Linked DNA regions of Homo sapiens: region 1 is linked to region 2. Evidence: promoter capture Hi-C in human tissues and cell types (Jung and others, 2019). All regions are on one chromosome and are shown on one strand. Each heading gives the region's core, a stretch centred on a gene start or on the middle of the fragment in contact. The rest is flanking DNA. Distances are from core to core; before and after follow the strand shown.

Region 1 (3,230 bases), core at 500-2,999, 300 kb after region 2:
AAGTAGCTGGGATTACAGGCATGTGCCACCACACCTGACTAATTTTGTATTTTTAGTAGAGATGGGGTTTCTCCATGTTGGTCAGGCTGGTCTTGAGCTCCTGACCTCAGGTGATCCACCTGCCTTGGCCCCCCAAAGTGCTGGGATTACAGGTGTGAGCCACCTCGCCCAGCCTTTGTTTGTTTTTTTGAGACGTAGTCTCGACCTGTCACCCAGGCTGGAGTGCAGTGGAGCAATCTCCACTTACTGCGACCTCTGCCTCTCGGGTTCAAGCGATTCTCCTGCCTCAGCCTGCCAAGTAGCTGGGACTGCAGGCGCGTGCCACCATGCCTGGCTAATTTTTTGTATTTTTAGTAGAGACGGGGTTTCCCCGTGTTAGCCAGGATGGTCTCAATCTTCTGACCTCGTGATCTGCCTGTCTCGGCCTCCCAAAGTGCTAGGATTACAGGCGTGAGCCACTGTACCTGGCCCGTAAACTTTTTTTTTTAACTGAGGTATAATGTACATACAGAAAAGTAGTTTAATTGTAAGGTGACCACCCAGATAGAGATATAGAAGACCCAGAAGTCTTTTTTTGTTTTTTGAGACAGAATCTTGCTCTGTCGCCCATGCTGGAGTGCGGCGGCACGAATTCAGCTCACTGCAACCTCTGCCTTCTGGGTTGAAGCGATTTTCTTGCCTCAGCCTCCTGAGTAGCTAGAACTGCAGGCGTGTGCCACCACACCTGGCTAATTTTTGTATTTTTAGTAGAGACGAGGTTTCACCATGTTGGCCAGGCTGGTTTTGAACTCCTGACCTCAAGTGATCTGCCCGCCTCAACCTCCCAAAGTGCTGGGATTACAAGCGTAAGCCACATGCTCAGTCCCAGAAGTCTGTTTTATGTTCTCTCCTAGTCATTACCCTCCTCCACTCCAACAGGTAGCCACTATTCTGACTTCCTCTGGTAGTATTTGTGTTCAACTACAAGCTTGAGACTTGGTAATAATTGCCACAAACCTCCTTGAAGATAAAGTCATGTTGGTGGTGTTTAATATAGTGGTTCCAGTTAGTATGGGGACATTTTTTGGGTTTTTTTTTTTTTTTTTTTTTTTTTTTAGATGGAGTCTTGTTCAGTCACCCAGGCCAAGTGCAGTGGTGCGATCTCGGCTCACTGCAGCCCCCGCCTCCCAGGTTCAAGCGATTCTCCCGTCTCAGCCTCCTGAGTAGCTGGGATTACGGGCACCTGCCACGATGCCTGGCTAATTTTTATATTTTCAGTAGAGATGGGATTTCACCATGTTGACCAGGCTGTTCTCGAACTCCTGACCCTGTGATCCACCCACCTTGGCCTCCAAAGTGCTGGGATTACAGGCATGAGCCAGTGTGCCTGGCCAAGAATAAACTTTTCTAAAAGTTCAGTTTTACTTAGGGGAAGGGGTAAACTTATTTTATTTTTTTTTTTGAGACAGAGTCTTGCTCTGTTGCCCAGGCTGGAGTGCAGTGTTGTGATCTCGGCTCACTGCAACCTCTGCCTCCTGCAGCTCAAGCAATCCTCCCACTTCAGCCTCTTGAGTAGCTGGGACTACAGGCATGTGCCACCCTGCCCAGCTAACTTTTTGTCTTTTTTTGTAGAGACTGGGTTTCGGCATGTCACCCAGGCTGGTGTGAAACTTCTGGGCTCAAGTGATCTGCCTGCCTCAGTCTCCCAAAGTGCTGGGATTACAGATGTGAGCCGGCCCGTGCCCAGCTGGGATAAACTTTTTAAGGTGAACATTTACTGCCCTGTAAAATGATAAGCCTGCCTACTATACCAAATCCTCGTAACAACAGTCAGAATTTTGACAAATCTTTATGTCACTGAATTGAAGAAAAGTGTCACTGTTTTTCCTGTAGGTTCCATGTGCTCATCAATGCTAATGGGCAAATCTCAGCTAATAGACTGCTAGAAGTTTCCTCTAGGTAAAATCCAGACCAGACAAGTTTTTCCTCTTGTACTGTGTTTAGGTACAGCCTCACAGAACTTGATCCACTCCTCTGCATGAATATTTTCTTCCCTCATTTCAATAAAGAAGATTTCTTGGCCGGGCGCAGTGGCTCACACCTATAATCCCAGCACTTTGGGAGGCCGAGGCGGGTGGATCACGAGGTCAGGAGTTCAAGATCAGCTTGGCCAACATTGTGAAACCCCGTCTCTACTAAAAATACAAAAATTAGCCAGGCGTGGTGGCACGTGCCTGTAGTCCCAGCTACTTGGGAGGCGGAGGTAGGATAATTGCCCGAACCCGGGAGGCAGAGGTTGCAATAAGCCAAGATGGCACAACTGCACTCCAGCCTGGGTGACACAGGGAGACTGTCTCAAAAAAAAAAAAAAAAAAAAAAGGTTTCTTACAAGTCTACTGGATACTGTCTAATGTTGGGCCCATTTTGATGACAAAATTATTTTATAATATTGTTGGACAGAAGCGATGAATGTCCAGAATTTCACATTGGCATATCTTATCCATCAATTCTGATTTTAAACTCCTTGACCATTTACTAGTCAATTGTTATGAGCAGCTATGTATTCATGTATCCCTCTACAGTCTAGAGAGTTCTAGGTGAGTGATGATGCTTTGACCCTGAAAGACCCCTTTACTTATCAGTTTATTTATTTTTCCCTTGGATTCAATAGGAGGGAATACTTATTAGTATGTTTAATATTTGGTCAGCTAGATCTTTTTTCCTAGATATCTGATCTTTAGCCTTTAGTGTGTCTTACCTTAACTAGTGGTAGTGTTCTATATACTATAATAGTCTTGTTACCTGTTTTACTCTTGAGTTTTGTGAGTGACTTATGCTGCTTCTAGCTAGGCCTGGGGATTCTGTCCCTAATTGTCTTGTCTTTTCTTTTTTTTTTTTTTTTTTTTTTGAGACGGAGTCTCACTCTGTTGCCAGGCTAGAGTGCAGTGAAATGATCTCGGCTCACTGCAACCTCCGCCTCCTGGGTTTAAGCAATTCTCCTGCCTCAGCCTCCCGAGTAGCTGGGACTACAGGCGTCTGCCACCGCCATGCCTGGCTAATTTTTGTGTTTTTAGTAGATACGGGGCTTCACCATGTTGGCCAGGATGGTCTCGATTTCTTGACCTCATGATCCGCCCGCCTCAGCCTCCCAAAGTGCTAGGATTACAGGCATGAGCCACTGCACCCGGCCATAAACTCTGTCCCTAATTTTCATTGTGCTTATGTCTTTTAGTAATTATGTTAAATCTAGC
Region 2 (3,090 bases), core at 480-2,979:
CCTAGACATGATTGGTGCCTGGTGTCTGCTCTATTCTTTCTTTGCAACTGGAAGGAAGGCAGATGACCCCCAAAGCTCTCCTGCCTGCTTCTGTGTGATATGTTTGATATTGGGTTGTTTAATTAGGAACCAACTAAATGTCAAACATATTCTTACAGCAGCAGGTGATTCAGCACCACCCTCTTTCATACTTCAATCTCTGGGGCTCCTGTCTCTTTTACTGAACCTCTTCTCTCCAGGACCCCCCCAAAAGTCCAGTAGCTGCAACCTATGTGCATTTCAATCTTAACCTAAGAGGGCTGGTGTGGGAATGGGAGAGAGTTGGAATTTGAGGATAGAATCTTTCTATTTCTTGTCCCCTTATACTAGAAGGGACATTTCTTTGCCTTTTCTTGTCCTCGTATTTTTCTCCCCCTTATTCACTTGCCCACCCCCCCCCCATTTTCCACTCCTTCCTCTCCCTGTTCCCTAACCCCTTTCCCTGGCTAATCTCCAGAGAAAGGAGACTTGGTTTCTCCTCTCTCTGTCGAGAGTCAGCTGATGGTCTATCTGCCTATCTACCTCTAGTGACTGGAAGCTCTCAATAGTGGACTCCAGCTCTGCTCTACCCACTGGCCTGGTGGGTGTCTCCGTTCCCCCATTGCTGGGGCTTAGCATTAACTCTCAGTATCCTGACATAAATGACTAACTAGAGCCATTTATATTTGTCCAATATATCTGGTCACCTTGAACAGTGCCCACCTCTCCCTTGGCATATTTTCAGGTGTATGGTGCCAGTGGACTGGTATCCTTGCCACCTGTTAGTAACAAGGCTCCCAATGGAAGAATAAACATGGTCTGGAACTAAACTGGAAAGAATAGAGCTGATAATGATGATTACGATGATGTGGTGAGTGGCAGCGTTGGGGAGAATTAAGAAGGGAGAAGATAAAGGGAAGAAGAGGAGAGAGCCACACAGACCAAAGTCTGTGTGGGTACAACAGTTCTATTTTAAGATTACTGTGGGAAAACAAAGGGTATGATCCTGTCTGGATTGTTCTGACCCTCCCCTGTTTCTCTCCCCACCCCACTTGAAGCTCTGGGATAGCCTTCAAGGATAGGGTTGGAGATTCCAACCCTACCTCTTACTCTACTCTTGTGGCTCTTGGTGGGGAGGAAAAACGTCTCCCTGCCAATCGGAGACTCCCAGAATAGCACAGCAATTTGATCTGGGGATCTGGGAGAATTGTTAAGGATCATGAGTGACCTCCCCTCTTCCCTGTGCCCAAGCTCCTTGAATACCAGGAATCAAAAGCTAAAACTCAACTAACGGAGTTTGACCAGCATTCAACACAGTCTGGGGGAGAGTGAAACGGGAAGCTGAAAGGCAACCAGGACCCCCTGGATGCAAACTGCCAACCTAGAATTGCCAAAGTACACTTCTCTATTTCAATGTTCTTCCCTCCCCTCTTCCTCTTCTTTTAAAACATCCATAGAGCTGCCCAGAATGAGTGGAAAGTTTCAGGGTCAGGGAGAACCTCTTCCCTCCCCCACTTTCCATTGTCTAAAATCAGCCTCAGCTGTTGCTAGATATTTTTTTTGCTGGTGATGTCAGTTCATCAAAGCGTCTCACCCTGTGTTCCCCCAGGAGAACAATGATGGGGTGGAGGGAGCTGGAAAGACCATATTAGGAACAAAAGGTGGAGCTATGAGCACAGATAAAGACTCAAGTCTGGGGACCTCCTGGTCACTCAGGCAGCAGCCCCTTCTTTCTTGCCCCAGTCTCCAGTTCTCCAGTGTTCACAGGTGAGCCTACCAACAGCCACTGCTCATGATGGAGGCCATCAAGAAAAAGATGCAGATGCTGAAGTTAGACAAGGAGAATGCTCTGGATCGGGCAGAGCAAGCTGAAGCTGAGCAGAAGCAGGCAGAAGAAAGAAGTAAACAGGTAGGCACTGGCATTGATCTCTCTCATCTGCTAGTGAACAAGACTGTGAAATGGAAGGGAGTTTTCATGGGAAAGACAGTGACTACTGGTGTCACCTCCTTTTTGGGGGTGGGATGGACTCCCCAGCCTCACTGGAGGAGCAGAGGATATCTAACATATCTGTCTCAGACTGCCTTTGTGACCTTGGGAAAGTCAGTGAGCCACAGTATGTCTGCTGAATTTAAGTAGAAATGGACCATGTTTTGGAAGAACCCTTGACTTCTAGAGGAAAAGGTAAGAGTTCTAGAGGGAAAGAGCATCTCTTTTCACTCAAATAGCATCACGGGCATCTACACTTTAGATATTTATCATCCAGGGGTCTTGGATGAAAACCCAGGATGGCTTGGTCATCTTAGGATCAGAGATTACAGGGTCACAGGCCAAGCTACGGCATAACTCCTGAGGCAGTGGGCTGGAAGTGGCTGGGGAGAAAGTGTGTCTCACTAGGGATGGTAACATGGAGGTTACACTCAGGGCTCCAAGAGCCCAGGGTCCAACCCTGCATTGTTGTGTTTGTGTGTTTTTGTGTGTGACTCTCTGGGCTCCTATAGCTGGAGGATGAGCTGGCAGCCATGCAGAAGAAGCTGAAAGGGACAGAGGATGAGCTGGACAAGTATTCTGAAGCTTTGAAGGATGCCCAGGAGAAGCTGGAACTGGCAGAGAAGAAGGCTGCTGATGTGAGTATTAGAGAGATGGAGGATGGGTTTAATCTACACATATAGATCTTTATGTTAATGTATGACGAAATTCCAAACACACTTGTGGGTTCATGGAACACAGACATATATACTCACATACATTTTTGCATATAACCACATGCTGGTATATTCTCATAATGGCATGTATTTTCTTTCTTAAAGACATCTCCAACATGTTAAAAGTTTTTTTTTAATACATGTAAAGGTCTCATTTATCTCCTATCACCAACCCAGGAATTTAATTATCTTTCCCAGGACCTGGACAAAGAGAGGGGACTCTAAGTTCAGAATGCTGTCACTTATCCTACCTCCTCCCCCATGCCACATTCTTAGCTTTTATGTCCAAGTCTTGGCATGTGGATATGTGTATTAATAGGGAACCTCTCATCTCTCAACTGTCCAACAAAACCAGCTCGGATTTCACAA

What was found. The method cuts DNA at HindIII sites, captures the fragments that hold promoters and counts their contacts. A contact is called where the count stands out against the background at its distance.
Region 1: a fragment that was not itself captured here is called in contact with the fragment with the promoter of TPM3 in region 2 in 1 of the 25 tissues and cell types used here (adrenal gland).

Annotation. Positions count from the first base shown.
Region 1 is chr1:153,891,821-153,895,050 of GRCh38, reverse strand. All of the region lies in intron 1 of GATAD2B (GATA zinc finger domain containing 2B), which reads left to right. Among named protein-coding and RNA genes, the nearest start is that of GATAD2B, 30 kb to the left of the region's middle. The HindIII fragment of the contact is 7,988 bases long and covers 1-3,230 here.
Region 2 is chr1:154,190,739-154,193,828 of GRCh38, reverse strand. TPM3 (tropomyosin 3) reads left to right here and starts at 1,729. Exons shown (of 10, transcript NM_152263.4): 1 at 1,729-1,927; 2 at 2,518-2,643. The coding sequence starts at 1,811. It overlaps MIR190B (microRNA 190b), which reads left to right and starts at 86; the gene lies at 86-164. The HindIII fragment of the contact is 10,185 bases long and covers 1-3,090 here.